3 separate regions of the Homo sapiens genome follow, and all the other regions are linked to region 1. The links are contacts of gene promoters, found by promoter capture Hi-C in human tissues and cell types (Jung and others, 2019). All regions are on one chromosome and are shown on one strand. The core of a region is centred on a gene start or on the middle of the fragment in contact, and the rest is flanking DNA. Distances in the headings are between cores, read along the strand shown. Region 1 holds the start of TBX3 (T-box transcription factor 3). Region 2 overlaps MED13L (mediator complex subunit 13L). Region 3 overlaps LINC02463 (long intergenic non-protein coding RNA 2463).

Region 1 (5,005 bases), core at 1,081-3,580:
TAGTCTTGACTTAAAAGGAAGCAAGGAAGCACTTTGCTGGAAAACTGACTAAATGTCTTGTGAGTTTGAGGAGGATTTTATGCCAAACTTTGGCCTCATTTAGCTTGGAAGGAGACAGAACGCTTAAGATATCATGAAGGGGATTTTATTTTTGTATCAACTTTATGCCTTTACAGGCTTCAATGCTATTACAAAAAAAAAATCAGTGATTTTAAATGACTATTACAGGATCTTCTCTTCCAGGCAGGTTTTGGTCAGGCAAGGACCTTTAAACATTATGTAAAATATGGTTGATAATATTCACACATTAAAAAAAAGGTGTGTGTCTCCTCACTGGCTCCTTAAGTCTGCAAACATAATCTTAAATTATGCAAAATTGCCTGCTGAACTCGCCCTTGGGTTACAGACACGTGAAGTAGTGTGGGCAAACAAACCAAAATGCCCTTCGATTTCTCTCTGACCAGGGCAGCAGCAGGCCCCTTTAGACCCAGAGGCTAGACTGGAGGGCAGAAAGGGCCGGGGAATGGTGTCAGGCCTCCCAATACCCACACAAAAGGAAAGGGCTTTAAGTTTTTCTCTCTGAGAACAAAATAAAACAGACAACACAACATCAACAAAGAAATAAGGATGTTCCAGGAGGGTTTGAAGAGTGAGTTTCTTGCAGTAGAGTGCCTTTTTTTTTTTTCTTTCCTGCTCCCTGCAGGGATGTCTGTGCTCCACTGAAAAATTCTGTCTGTTCGGGAGGGAACCCAGGATGCAGACCAAATGCAAGACCCATGCAGATGCCCAGGTAAGCTGAAATTTCCTGCCACCGGGGCAGGGCCTGGAAGTCTGTGCATACATTTCTAGGGGAACTAACTTTTCGTCCAAGCCGTAATAACCGACCAACCGACTGTTCTGGGAGCAGAGAAATAAAGGGAGGAAAAAACTCTCCAACAGCTTAGGGGAGGAGGCCCCCACTGCTTACCTTCCCGACTTGGTAATGACCATCTCGGTGCCCCGCTTGTGAAACTGATCCCAAAGTTCTTTAGCCTCCAGGTGCACCTTGGGGTCGTCCTCCACCTCTTCTTCGGGCTCCATGGTCTTCAAAGGCCTCAGATGCGCCTGGGGCCCCAGGGAGGAGAACGGGATGCCGGTCTCGGCCGCCCCCACCAATTGATCCATGATCGGCTTGGCCAGGGCGCCCGGCAGCGAGAGCGCCGCCGCGCCGTTGGGAGGCAGCGTCAGCGCGGGGAAGAACGGCGGCTGGTGACCCAGCACCGCGCTCATGGCGAAGTCCGGCGCCCGGTGAGGTAGGAACGGATGGTAGGCCATGCTTGTCCCAGGAATGACCGGATCTCTCATGGAGAGGCTCATCCACTCCAGGCGGGGCGCTGGGCTCCAGCCGGGGACAAGTCCGCAGCTGCTGTGTTTTGTTGTTTTTTTGTTGTTGTTTAACAGCAGCACATAATTCAAAAGGGGGGAAAAAGCAAAACAAAAAAGAAAGAAAAAAGAAAAGGAGGCAGAAATCACAACTAATGCACTTCAAAGGGAGGAGGGGAAGTGTCTTTTGGAGAATGGGAGGCCGCTTTTAAAGAGGGCAAGGCGAAAAATCAGCAAACATAGTCGCGCGGGTGACCGTCCTTGTGCCTTGCGTTTTTAAAAAGCCGCTCCTGAACGTCGGTTTCAGAAGCGAGAGGAGCGAGCAGGGTCTCGACTCGCGCCCGAGCCCTGCCGCTGAGCTCGAAATAGACACTCCAGCCCTGCGTCCCAGGAATCTCTCTCCAGCCCCTAGGTCTTTTGTTGCAAATGTGAAAGGTTCTCCTAGAAGACTTTTTACCTTTCTTTTTCTTCTTCCCCCGCCCCCTATCTGTCTTCCTCTCCCTCTTTCTCGCTGGTGGCGTCTGCAGCTGTGCTAGACCCGGCTTTAACAGGGAGCGAGAGAGCGGAAAAAGTCTCTCTCCTTTAAAAAAAAAAAAATCTGATTTAAACCCCCTTCTACCAGCGCTATCAAAACTTGAATTGCAAACTGGCTTCCGTTCGCCGCCCTCCTCCTCCTTCCTCTGCTCCGAGCCTCCGGAGGGTGTCTCGGTTTCAATCCAAATCTTGCTGGGCTCTTCTCCCGTGCCTCTCTCTCTTCCTTGTCCTAAAACGTGAGCGAATTCGCTTCCTAAATCTGTGTCCAGGCGCGCAGGGCAGGGAGGATTTAGAGGGGGAAAAAATGGAACAGAGGGAAAGAGAGGGAGGGGAGAGAGAGAGAGAGAGAGAGAGACGGAGTCGGAGAGGGAGGGAGCGAGAGAAAGCGAGAGCTCCTCGCCACCCTCCGCCGCCTCTAGAATTCACCGGGCGTCTGCTCGGCGGCTCTAGAAGGTCGGGCTGCGCTGTGGGCTGCGGGGAGCCGGAGGCCTCTTGATTGGCTCTTTGACGCTTTCGGACCAATTGTGTTGCTGCATAGGCGTGGTTTTCACAGGTCGAGTGCTGGGGGATAGAGCTGAGTTATAAAAAGAAGGTGTCGGAAACTGTAACGTCGCAGCGCCGCATCGGTACTACTGCCTGTCCTGTGAATATGTCAACATGATCAGAGGGCGGGCGGGAGCCACTGGGGAGCGCGCGCGCACAGAGTCGCCTCTAGGTGGCTTATCGAGAGATCGCTGCAGCCCCTGAGCTCGCTCGCTCGCTCTGGTTCAGCCCACGTCTGAAATGCCTCAGTCATCCAGCCGGGGATCGAGGGAGGAGGCAGGGCCAAGGAGGAAGGGGGAGGGAGAGAGGGAGGGAGCCAGCGAGCAGGCGAGCCGGGCGGGGAAGGCGGAGAGCGCGCCCGGGCGCCGGGCAGGGGCGCTCGCCTCTCTTGCACTCCGCTCGCCTCTCCGACCGCCGCGGCCGGTTCTCTCTCCAGCTCTCCTTCTTCTCCCCGCCCCGGGCGAGCCGGGCGGGTGGCCGAGCCTCCCCGCGAGCTGCCATCCGGCCACTCGGTTCTACAAAAGCCGGCGGCAGCCGAGAAGCGAGCGCCGAGACTCCAGGCTTGCGTGCTCTCCAGCCCCACGTGGAGCCAAGCTCCGCCCGGCCGCCGCTGAAGGGCTCCCGAGCTCGGGTGTCTCGGTGCTGGTCTCCCCTGCGTCTGGGCTGGGGGAGCACAAGGATGCGGCCATATCTCAGCACACGCATGTGTGGGCTTCCTCTCCACTGCGCCCCACCCGCAGCCATGTGCGGGTACCCAAACACCCCCGGTGTATCTGTACTCGAACACGCGCCAACACACTGGGACTGAAACACACACCGAAAAACACGTACACACAAACACGTACACAGCCTGCGCGGCTGGCCCTGCCTGAGCTCCTGGGGAAGATGGATTTGGGATTTTTATGAAATGCATTTACCAGCCCTTTTGGATCTCGTCTTTCATTTGCATGCGGGCCCCCATATTCCACCTGGATGTGGGTGTGGGTGTAGAGAAGAGAATGGAGGATCTGGACAAAGCGAGCACAGCGAGAGACTGGGTTCTGAGCCTGTCCCCTCCAAGCCGCTGCCCTCACCTCGAGGCCCGGCTGGGTGCACAGCACAGGGTAAGGGGTGGGCGATTGGGTTGGGGGAGGCGCGCCAGCCTGGTATCTTCTCTAGGCATCGCACTTATCTCTCGGTGCCTCAGTTCTTTCTCCACCCCGGGGACTTAATCTGGCCAGAAGTCGGGGAGGGAGGGTGAATTTGTAAAACAAACCGTGAAACGCCCCCACCTCAGAGGCGAGTTGACTGTTTTTAGTACGGGTAGGGTGGGGGCCTCCTCTTAGGCGGACGGGAGGGAAACGACCGGATCTTACCAATCGCCGAATTACCAACTCTGTTACCGCAGCGCCCGGTCGGGGTCAGAGGATTCGCCTAAGCCCACAGTTCTTGATTCTGGGGGCCAATGTCTTGGACCATCCTTGCTTAGATGGAGGGAAATCTTGAAAACAATGTTCTTTTATCTTTCCTGAGATGAAAGCTTCTTCGATGGAAAGGGAACGGAGAAAGGGCTGATCTGGGGGCTTAGGGGTTTAAGAGACTCAGGGCTTTGGATGTGTGTGTCTCTGTAGGCCAGCACAGGCCTCTCTCGCATTTTGCCTTGTGCACCCGCGCAACCCCCAGCAACCCCGAAACCCCAACGTGGCACCAAGGGAAGGGTGAAAATGAAGTGCTCTTGTGGGCCAACCACGCTGAGATAGGGGAGGATCTTTTGAGGCGACAGGCTTCTCCAGCCTCGCATTTTTGACGCACATGGTTAAGAGAGCTTGGCGCCAGCGTTGAGAATTCCCTGAAGTCACCAGAGAGAATAGTGTGGTTCTGCGAACTCCGTCTGGCTCGCCATCTCGCCCCTTTCTTTCCCTTTCAGTCTGTCTTTCTCTGGCGTCCTCTCTGTCTCTGCCAGTGGTTAAAATAGAGAAAGGAGAGAGAGGGAAAATTACGAGGTGGTGGTGCCCCAGAGTGTTGGCTCATAACACCCCCTCCCGCATCCCCTCCTCCCCACCTGAAGGGTGCGAAAGGCCAGGCCATTTCCCGCCTTACACAGAACACGGAAGTCACTGCAGGGTTTCATGAGTCTCTGGGGACCCCCGCCCCAAAAAAAAGAAAAAGAAAAGAAAAGAAAGAAATAGAAAAAAAAAGTGCACCCCCTCCCCCAGACTGCTCGCCTCCGGGGCCTGGGGCCCCTTCGCTGCTCTTTCAAGAGCGGCCCCAAATCCCAGCGATCTGGTTTTGCCTGCCTGCCCTCGCAGGCCAATCTCTGCCCCACTACTTGGGGTGGAAGCAAAGTAGTTCTACAACCACACTGTGACCGACCTCCTCCTCACCCACTCGGTGCCCCCAAGCGTCCCACGCACAGCAGAGAGACATTCCTCTGCATTCTGGCCAGCTGTCAGCTTTGGAAATGGGAGGGGAGCTTGCGGATTTTACTTAAAAATGTCTAGATTTGTTTTTGGCTCCGCGGGTGGACTGAGAGGGAGTTCTGCCCCTCACACTGTCCTCCTCCCTCAATTGCCTATTTTTTGCCCAT
Region 2 (5,005 bases), core at 644-3,143, 1.3 Mb after region 1:
AAAAAAAAAAAAAAAAAAAACCTTCTGTTTGGAAGGAAAAAATAATCTGCAGCTACTACATCAAACTGTATCAATTCTGAGTTGGTTAAAAAAATAAAAAATTTACTGCCACTTTGAACGCATTCTCTTCCCTGCTGTAATGTCTTAACTGGATATCAAAGAATGTTTAATGGTTCAGAAAAAGGAAATGCTGAAAGCCTCTTGGAGGTCACCTGGCTGCAGGTGCTCAGGATTGAAAAAGGCCACCTGGCTAGCTTCAGAACAGCACTGTCTAAATCATGGCATTGAATTAAAGACTTTAGTGCTTAAGGCTCCAAAAAAAGGGAGAAATACAGCATACCTCTGTTTCTTACACAACTAACATTACAACTTCAATAACCAATTCTTTGTTAATGCATAAACTGAATTACAAAAACAGGTACTGGGAGGTAGTTGCTATTATTCCATTTCACAGATAAGGTAACTCAGGCTAAGAGAGGTGAAGTTAGCTTGTCCAAGGTCACAAAGCCCGTAGGCCCAGAGCTGCAATTCAAAGTTGTCTTTAACAGACTGTGGGGCATGCATTCTTAGCTGCTATGCTACTTGCCTCCAGAATTCAAATTAAACCCAACTTTAAAAAAATAGACAATGTAACATTTGTGTTTTTCGTTCCTATCACAACCGTTTCCCATGAACAAATTATCATTAACTGGTAAGTACTGCAAAGGAAACAAAGACCCTTAAAACCCCTTCCTTCCAGAAGAGGGTAATAGGGGCAGGTATAACATGGGAACAGTCTGAGATGCCCTCCTCTGGTCTTACCTGCTCTGTGACTAATCTAAGCTATAAACCTTTTTTCTCTCCAGCGTCTAATAAATTCAGTGCTGGGAATAAAAGTCCCCCCCCCCCCCCGATGAAAACTGAAGTCCTTTATGTCCATCTTTGTGTCTAAATAAATGAGTGTGAGCAGGCTGCTTATGCTTGTTCAGTCTAAGATACCAGACATAGCTATTTTTCAAAGTCTTAACTCCCCAGTCTCATAACATTTTAAATAAACAGTACAATACAGTGATGCAGCAGGAATCATCTAACTGAAGCAAAGTTACCACAAGCTGTGGCAGAACCCTCTAACTCTTAAATCTTCTGTTGTTCATCCACCTCCAATATCCCTGAGATATTTAAAGATGAAACCAGTTGTAAGCTCTGGTTTTTTCCTTAATACTCTGGCGTTAACCTGGACACATCTGTAAAATCAATCTCCTGGCGGCTCTTGCCATTCCTGCAGGTCGGCTAGAAAGAAGAAGGCTGCAAAATGACTAAGCCAGGACACGCAAAGAGCACGGCAGGCTCCTTTCAGAACAAGCCATCACCAACGTGTTCTTCAATCAGCACAATTACTCTGCATGTTGAGTAAGTACGGTTGTTGTACTAATCTCTTAAAAGCCACTATTTTGGCAAAAAATAAAACCATTAAAAAACTGGGAAGCAGCAAGCAACTAGAACTAATTTTTGCTAAGAAAACAATGCATTAAAAACCCTTGCATCTGTAATAGGACTATTCTTCTGATAAAACTTATTCATCAGAAATAATAACATATTTATTTCAAATTCCTGCCTTCTATTCAAAATGGAACCATAGTCAGTTTCCCACACTTATTTCTCTTGTACCAAGGACCCAGACCATCAAGAACTGTGCAAGTAGGAACAAGATGATCAGATGTCCAGTGGATTATCTTCCTAAAGGCTATGGTTGTCTTAAACAACGTACTCCAAATCATCCTTACCCGACTATGCTGGAAGTGAGAGCCCACACCAATTCCAGAAGGAGAGCCTGGGGAGGGTACTGGGGAAGAGTTGGGAGAGGAATGGAGGTTCCCAGTCATTAATATGCCAATATCATTGTCCATATCATCTGGGAATGGAAGGTCAACAAACATATCATCTAGAGGGAAGGGGGGAAAAAAAGCACAAAAATTAAAAAGATAGTCCACATATCAATATCATAATAATCCAACCTAACCTATGTCATGTTTTGTTGGCATATGGCTATTATGGACACACACTGTTAATAACTTAGATTCAGTTAGGACCTACTGAGTGCAAGCTATTACAAATTATTCTTTCATTTTGTACTCTCTCCAATGATCTCCTTATGTACAGTATTAACAGAATGCAATAAAGAATATAACATAAAAACCTACACTCTGCATAGCCTCCAAAGACACATAAAAGTATGGTAAAAGAGCTAAAGCAACAATTTAATCATTAAAATTGACACCATTCAAAAACACAGTAGACTCCATCTATGTATCCACTTAGCATCTAAAACACCAGAGGCTGAATGAATGCATGTTAATGAGTGTGAACTTGCCCTGAAAATGGAGACCTATTCCAAAAGCAAATCAAAGCACAATGTTTTCTCTCTTTTTTTTTTTTTGAGATGGAGTCTCCCTCTGTTGCCCAGGCTGGAGTGCAGTGGCACGATCTCGGCTCACTGCAACCTCTGCCTCCTGGGTTCAAGTGATTTCTGGCTAATTTTTGTATTTTTCATAGAGATGGGGTTTCACCACGTTGGCCAGGCTAGTCTCAAATTCCTGACCTCAAGGGATCCGCCTGCCTCAGCCTCCCAAAGTGCTAGGATTACAGGCATAAGCCACCGTGCCTGGCCCAGCATTTTCATTAAGAAATCCTCCCCAACATTATAAAAGTAAGGTACACTCACAGCAGAAAATTTGTAAAGAAAAGTATAAAAAGTGAAAACCATCACCTAGAACCCAATCACCATGATCATTTTTTTCTATGATTCTTTTATTTTCTCATATATTTGTTATTCTATTGTAATCATACCAGATATAAAATTTGGTATCCTTTTCCTCATCCCATTTACCATAAATAAACACTGGTAGGTGTTATAATTTCTTCAAAAACAATGCAAATGGATGCTGTGTTGAGTGTTTTATAGTTTATAAATAATCATTTTTTTAAACAAATACCTTAACAGCTATTCAAAAATTTCCATTAAGAATAATCAAATAAGGGTTTCTCTATAGCAAATTAGATTGCCATAGACTAGCTAAAGGAAGGTGCTCTCTTCATATTGCTTAGTACTTCACACATTTCAAATCACATCAGCAAATATTTATTGAAAGAGTGGCACCTAAGTACAGAACAGTGCCACGCAGGTATTATTTTTTGCCTTTAATGAAAAATGGAAGAAAGTTAATTGCCCAAACAAGGAAAATATTTATTTGGTCTTGTTAATTGTGCAGATAAATCAAAGCTTTAAGACCAAATAGATTCTCAAACCTTCTATCCCCTCTTTATAGTTCCTGGGTTGTTTATTACAACACAGAAAAGCCATGCGGCAGCCCAGTGATTCCATACTCCGGCTCTGCCCTGCATGAAGGTGAGCACTATCCATACAGGTCTTCTACTCACCATTGTTGGGGCTAAACCCATCTTCATTGGGGTAGTTGGCTGGAGCCACCTGGATGGTTGATGATGTTGGGAACACCAAGATGTGTGTACAAGAAGCATCTTGAGGGGTGTTGAGCTGAGATGACTGCATGTTCAGTGCAGTACTTCGGCCAAAAACAGAGCCCATTGTGACAGCATCTTTAAAGAAAAAAATAGAATTATATCAATCAATGAACAACCCCAGAAATGAGGTTTTCAGAGGGCCTGATCTGGAGTGGTATGAGTCTGATGAAAATGCCATGATAAATACACATTCAAAATTGAGTCCAATTGTTTAAATATCTTCAAAGAAACTGACTCAGAGCACATAGCTGTCTATAATAACCCAAGTTTCATTTCATACTGAAAAGGTTAAGATAAAATTGGACCAAGTCCACTAAATGTTTTAATTACTTACGTAAGAAGTATTTCTAAAAATAAACACCCTACTTTCTTTCCTCCTCTGGTTGTTCACAATTTATAAAGTACTGTTCTAAACGGTTAACAATCCTATAGAGATAGGACCATAAAATCAATACATGTTATAACACTTAATGAATGCTTACTACATGCCAGCATTTGTGCTAAACTCTTCATTCAAGTCATCGCATTTGATCATCACAGCATCTGAAGGTAGGAACTATGATCCCCATTTATAGATGAGGACAAAAGCACAAAGAAGTTACGTAACTGCCCAAGTGGTAGCGGCAACAGAGGTAACCTATAGTCTAATGAGGACATCTGTCTCTCACTGGATTGATGACAAGTAACCCCATTCTCACACCACAATACTGTTGACTTTTATAAGGAATAAGTGGGGAAGGTCCCCCATTTGATTCAAGAAATATCTGGATGGTAAAGATAGGTTATAAAAATATAAAATCGCTCAGTTACTGGTTTTCAAAAACCAGCCAGATTCTTAAGAAATTCTGTGGCCACGTTTTGGCCATCCACAAATGACACCTACATCTATTGAGAGCTTACTGTGTACCAGGTACTGTGCTAACTGCTTTATCCTTGTTTGCCTTCCCATTCATCTTCAACCGTATCAGAGAGACTATAGAAATATCCCTTCGAGGCTGCTGAGAGATTCTGCCAAATGCATGTCTTCAAAAGGATATTCAAATATGCATCATTCTGGTGTCTACTTTCATAGTTCTTTGGAGGGTGATCTTCATATACTAACAACAAACTGGGGTCAGGTAACAGTCATTAGCCATGACTCTATGAGATCTCAATGATATTCAGAACTTAGTCTCTCCCCCGAGCTATGGTCAACAAACATGATAAAATCACAAACCACTCCGCATGGAAGGTATCGAATGTTTTCCATCTTTAAGCCCCAAATACAATCTTCCCTTATAGAAATATAATGAAGACAATTCTACCCTTGTCTGCGGACTTAAGTTTGAGTGGACTGAATTGATGTGATATGTAATTAATGACAATGACAAGAAGAAATTTACCTGGCATCACTACAAAGGACCCCTGGGGCTCCATGGCAACCAGGCAGGCACTAAGGATAGAAGGAGAGTCTGCGGCAGAGATTCCACACATCCGGCACACATCC
Region 3 (5,005 bases), core at 925-3,424, 1.2 Mb after region 1:
ACCTTGTCAATGAGACTTTCCCTAGCCACCTATCCAAAATCCCAAACTCTCCACCTAAATCTTCATTCCCCAATTCTGTTTTTTGTTGTTGTTGTTCTTCCTCACCACTTAACACTGGCTCATATATTTTCTGTCACCCCTCAACCAGAATGTCATTGTCCACCAGGACAAGGGTTTTGTCTGTTTTGTTTATTGCTCTGTCCCCATTCTGGATCAGCACCTGCACATACAAAGTGCTCAATAAACACCTGTGGAATAACTGAACAAATGATGGTGGTGTGTAATTAGTACTACTCTTAGTCCTGTCTTACTAAAGAGGAAACTGAGGCTCAGAGGGAGGATGAGGACATGTATGGTCATAAGTCTTAACACACCAAATGCAAGTATTTTATCCCTCAAAGCCATCAACTGGGCTGGGCACAGTGGCTCATACCTGTAATCCCAGCACTTTGGGAAGCCAACGCAGGAGGATTGCTTGAGTCCAGGAATTCAAGACCAGCCTGGGCAACATAGCAAGACCCCATTTCTACAAATAAATTTTAAAAATTAGCCAGGCCTGACGGTGAATGTTTGTACTCCCAGCTGCTTGAGGGTGGTAGGATTGCTTGACCCTGTCAGGTCGAGGCTGCAGTGAGCTGTGATAGAGCCACTGCACTCCAGCCTGGACAGCAGAGCAAGACCCTGTCTCAAAAAAAAAAAAATCAACTGTAGTCTTAGTTGTTGCTTGAATTCTTTTGATTCACTCGTATAATAAATATTGGTTGAGTTTTTACAATGAGTTTGGCTCTCTAGGAGGTTTAGGTGACAACTCAGTTCCTGCCCTCAGAAGTTTAATTTGGTGGATGAATAAGACTAGAAAAATGAGTGACAATTCTGAGGCTATTCAGGGTCAAGTGAGCAGCATTAACAAGGCATAGGGGCTAGGAAGGCTCCCTGGAGGAGGTGGCATTTAAGGTGCAACCTGACTATGCACAAAGCAAAGTGTACTCTAGGAAGAAATTGATGTGCAGAGTCCTGGAGGCTAGGAAGAGAGAGGAATTAAGTACATACAGGCCTGGACTAGAGAAGGAAACTGATTGCATTTACCAAAAGGTCCTTTCCTCTACGATCCTTCTGTGTGTTGCCTGCTTGAAAAACCCAACCATTCCCAGCCACCATTAATAGGGAGAGCTGGGACACTTTGCTAGCGCTTAAACTGTCCCTGACACTTCCAAATGCTGGGGGCTCCTTCTGCTTTAATCCATGGAATTAGCTTCTGGCCTCACTGGCACCGTCCCCTGAATTGCTGGAGGGCAGAGGTCAAGGCATTAAGCAGGGTAGATTAATACCCGGCCATAAATCCCAGAAGCTGCATTTAAGCGGCAGTCATATTTCACACGGGATCACCCCAGCCATTGATCGGCCCATCTTTTGGAGTGTGTGTGTGTGTGTGTGTGTGTGTGTGTGTGTGTGTGTGTCCCCCGGGCCATGTTTACGAGCCTTGCTGAGCCCTCCTGGGCAGCGCCCCCCACATGTCGCCCTTTGATCAGGGAAATCCAATACCTGAGGTCTGGGCTTTATGGGCACGTAAGTCTAGATTAAGAGAATTAACCACAGTGGATCACAACTAATAAAATGGTGCCTGGGCCCCACCACAGCGTGGCCCTGGTGGACAGGTAGAGGGCGGAAGGGATGGGGGAGAATGGCTACCCAGCATCCCGCCCAGGGCCACCACTCCCCTGTCCAGCCCACAGCTGCGCTTGGCAAGGGTGTGTGTGTGTGTGTGTGTGTGTGTGTGTGTGTGTGTGTGTGAATGCGTGCTTTAATCTAAATTCTCTTGTACATTTCTTTTTCCTGTTCTACATTCTTTCTTTTATGTGACAACACAGATTCAACATTTCCTCAAAAAAGAGGGACTCCTAGGCAACCTGTTTGTTTCTTTCTGCATTCAGTCATTCATTCATCAAATATTTACAATGAACAGATGAAGTAGACAGTGTTGTGAGTTAAATATTATCCCCTGAAAAGATATGTTCAAGTCCTAACCCTCAGCACTTATGAATGTGAAATTATTTGGAAATAGTGTCTTTGCAGATATAATCCAGTTAATATAAAGTCATATTGGATTAGGGTGGGCTCTAAGTCCAATGATTGTTGTCCTTAAAAGAAGACAGAGAAAGGCACACAGGGCAGGGACCATGGGAAAACAGAGGCAGAGAGTGGAGTGATGCTGTTGCAAGCAAAAAAAAAAAAAAAAAAAAAACACAAACACCAAGAACTTCCCAAGAAGCTGAGGATGAGGACGAGGCATGGAACAAATTTTCCCTCTGAGCTCCACAAAACAAACTAATGCTGTTGACATCTTGGTTTTGGACTTCTGGCTTCCTGAACTGTAAGAGAATAAATTTATGTGGTTTTAAGCTACCCAGTTTTTGATATTTAATTACTGCAGCTCTGGGAAACTAATACAGGCACTGCAGATGCAACCGAGAGCAAATCAGACTCTGCTTCAACCTTCAGGAGACTCCAGTCTTCCTGGAAGACAGACAGGGATGAGGCAGGTATAATTCAAAGTGATGAGTTCTGGAAAAGACAGAGCTCAGGGCCATCTGGAGGGCACAGGAGGACGACCTAGCATGGAGGTATCATGGAAGGCTTCCAGGAGGAAGTGAGATTTATGCTGAAGCCTAAAGATGATTGGAGTTGGCTAGGCAAAGGATGGGAGGGAACAGTGCTCAAGGCAGAGGGACTAGCCAAGGAGAGGGTTAAGAGGAGAGAGAGAAAATGCAGCCTTTGAGGAGATTAGAGAAACTCTAGCTGCTAGGAGTGGAAAAGAGGGATGAAGCTAAGAGAGATTTTCCAACTAGTCCATTTGAGCTGCTATAACAAAATACCTCAGACTGAGTAGCTTATAAAGAAAAAGAATTTATTTATTTTTGAGACTGAGTCTCACTCTGTTGCCCAGGCTGGAGTGCAGTGGCATGATCTCAGCTCACTGCAACCTCTGCCTCCCAGGTTCAGGCAATTCTCCTGCCTCAGCCTCCCAAGTAGCTGGGACCACAGGCATGAGCCATAACGCCTGGCTAATTTTTGTATTTTTAGTAGAGACGGGGTTTTACCATGTTGGCCAGGCTGGTCTCGAACTCTTGACCTCAGCTGATCCACCCACCTTGGCCTCCCAAAGTGCAAGGATTACAGGCATGAGCCGCCATACCTGGCTAAAAGAATTTACTTCTCACAGTTCTGGAGTCTGGGAAGTCCAAGATGAGGGCAGATTTGGTGTCTGGTGAGGACCGCTTTCTGGCTTGTGGATGGCGCCTTCTCACTGTGTCCTCACGTGGTGGAAGGAACAAGGCACCTCCTGGGAATCCATTTTTCATAGGCACTTATCCCTTTCAAGAAGGCTCTACCTCCATGACTGAATCACCTCCCAAAAGCTTCACCTCCTAATACCATCACCTTGAGGGTAAGGATTTCAACATAGAAATTAGGGATGGGGCGCAAACATTCAGAGCATAGCAGTGAGGGTGGGTGGGTGCCCAGCTGGGGAGGACCCTGTAAGGAGTCCTCAGGGCTAAGGAGCTTGGGTTTATCCTACGAGTAGAGAGAAGCCACCAAGGAGGTGAGCGATGTAGCCGGGGCTGTGGTTAGAGGTTATTCTGACAGTGGTATTGTGTTAATTGCAACACTGCTAAGTGAGGCTGGGGTGCCTGAGGGTGAAGTAAACACCATGTAGGATTCTGCCTATTAAGGGCTCAGGGCTTCAAAGCCCCATTCCTATCATCCTTCACTCCTAAAATGTGGAAAGTTCTGTAAAAGGACTTCCTGTGCTCCCAAGCTGTGCATATGGCCTATGAGTTATCTCCCAGGCAGCACAGCCACCCAGGCGGAATGATGTCATCTCCACCACCGAGCCCGCGTGCCCGGCGCTGAGTTGGTGTTCAGCAAACACTCCTTGAGTAAATACTCTGTATGTGAGTCCGATGGGAGCATCTTTAGTTAGGACTTACTGGGACGTGATCCGGTTTGGTGATCTGCCCTCAAGCTGGACCAAGGGTGTCTGCAGCTCCACTAAGGCTATTGCCGAGTGTTTGCCAAATTTGCCTGCCTGGTACAAGTGCTGGACCTGCATCAAAGTTCAGTCGCTGCTTCTTAGAACATATTGTAGTCTTGCACACTGGTTTTTTTTTTTTTTTTTTTTTAAGACGGAGTCTCACCCTGTCACCCAGACTGGAGTGTGGTGGCATGATCTCGGCTCACTGCAACCTCCACCTCCCAGGGTTCAAATGATTCTCCTGCCTCAGCCTCCCGCGTAGCTGGGATTACAGGCACCTGCCATCATACCCATACTGAATATGTATGAATCAATGGCTGGGATTTGGTAATCATACCCAGCTAATTTTTATATTTTTAGTAGAGATGGGGTTTCACCATGTTGGCCAGGCTGGTCTCAAACTCCTGACCTCATGATCCACCTGCCTCAGCCTCCCAAAGTGCTGGGATTACAGACGTGAGCCACCACAACTGGCCTGCACACTCTTTAATGAGCTTGAAGACAAGTTCAAAATGGCATTCTGTCTGTAATAGCAGAGCTGAGACTGGTATGGAGTAATGCAAAGTAAAGTCATGGCCGGAATAGGGCAAGGGCACAAGAGCAAGCATTTATTGAGCACCTACTGTATGCACAGTATATCAAAGTGCTTTGCAGATGCCTTCCTTGTCTAATCCACCCAACAGGCCTGCAATGCAGGTGTTCTCATCATGCCCAATTTACAGAAAAGCAGGGTGGCTGCAAGGAGGCGACATGCTGAAGGTCCCACAGCTTGTGAGCAGTAGAGCTGTGCTGAAAGTTCAGGCTCTTCTTTCTCCCTTCTGAGTTTCAAACCCGAGGGCAGGCAAGGGAGGATCAAGGAGAAGAGATAAATCAGGCAGAGGTTTGGCCTCCATTTACTTTGGGAGGCTAGTGGAGGGAAGGGCGCCTTCACTCCCACATATCACTGGGACATGAGCACCATCCCGCTGTCTA

Evidence for each region. The method cuts DNA at HindIII sites, captures the fragments that hold promoters and counts their contacts. A contact is called where the count stands out against the background at its distance.
Region 2: a fragment that was not itself captured here is called in contact with the fragment with the promoter of TBX3 in region 1 in 1 of the 25 tissues and cell types used here (small bowel).
Region 3: a fragment that was not itself captured here is called in contact with the fragment with the promoter of TBX3 in region 1 in 1 of the 25 tissues and cell types used here (lymphoblastoid cells).

Annotation. Positions count from the first base shown.
Region 1 is chr12:114,681,845-114,686,849 of GRCh38, forward strand. TBX3 (T-box transcription factor 3) reads right to left here and starts at 2,331. Exons shown (of 7, transcript NM_005996.4): 1 at 968-2,331. The coding sequence starts at 1,356. It overlaps TBX3-AS1 (TBX3 antisense RNA 1), which reads left to right and starts at 448. Exons shown (of 2, transcript NR_187552.1): 1 at 448-790. RefSeq lists a promoter at 2,333-2,842 and enhancers at 4,153-5,005, 4,745-5,005. The HindIII fragment of the contact is 7,860 bases long and covers 1-4,969 here.
Region 2 is chr12:115,967,177-115,972,181 of GRCh38, forward strand. It overlaps MED13L (mediator complex subunit 13L), which reads right to left. Exons shown (of 31, transcript NM_015335.5): 26 at 4,902-5,005; 27 at 3,418-3,594; 28 at 1,764-1,921. Among named protein-coding and RNA genes, the nearest start is that of LINC02463, 83 kb to the left of the region's middle. The HindIII fragment of the contact is 6,936 bases long and covers 1-5,005 here.
Region 3 is chr12:115,836,485-115,841,489 of GRCh38, forward strand. The region is part of intron 2 of LINC02463 (long intergenic non-protein coding RNA 2463); the gene reads right to left. Among named protein-coding and RNA genes, the nearest start is that of LINC02463, 47 kb to the right of the region's middle. The HindIII fragment of the contact is 8,902 bases long and covers 1-5,005 here.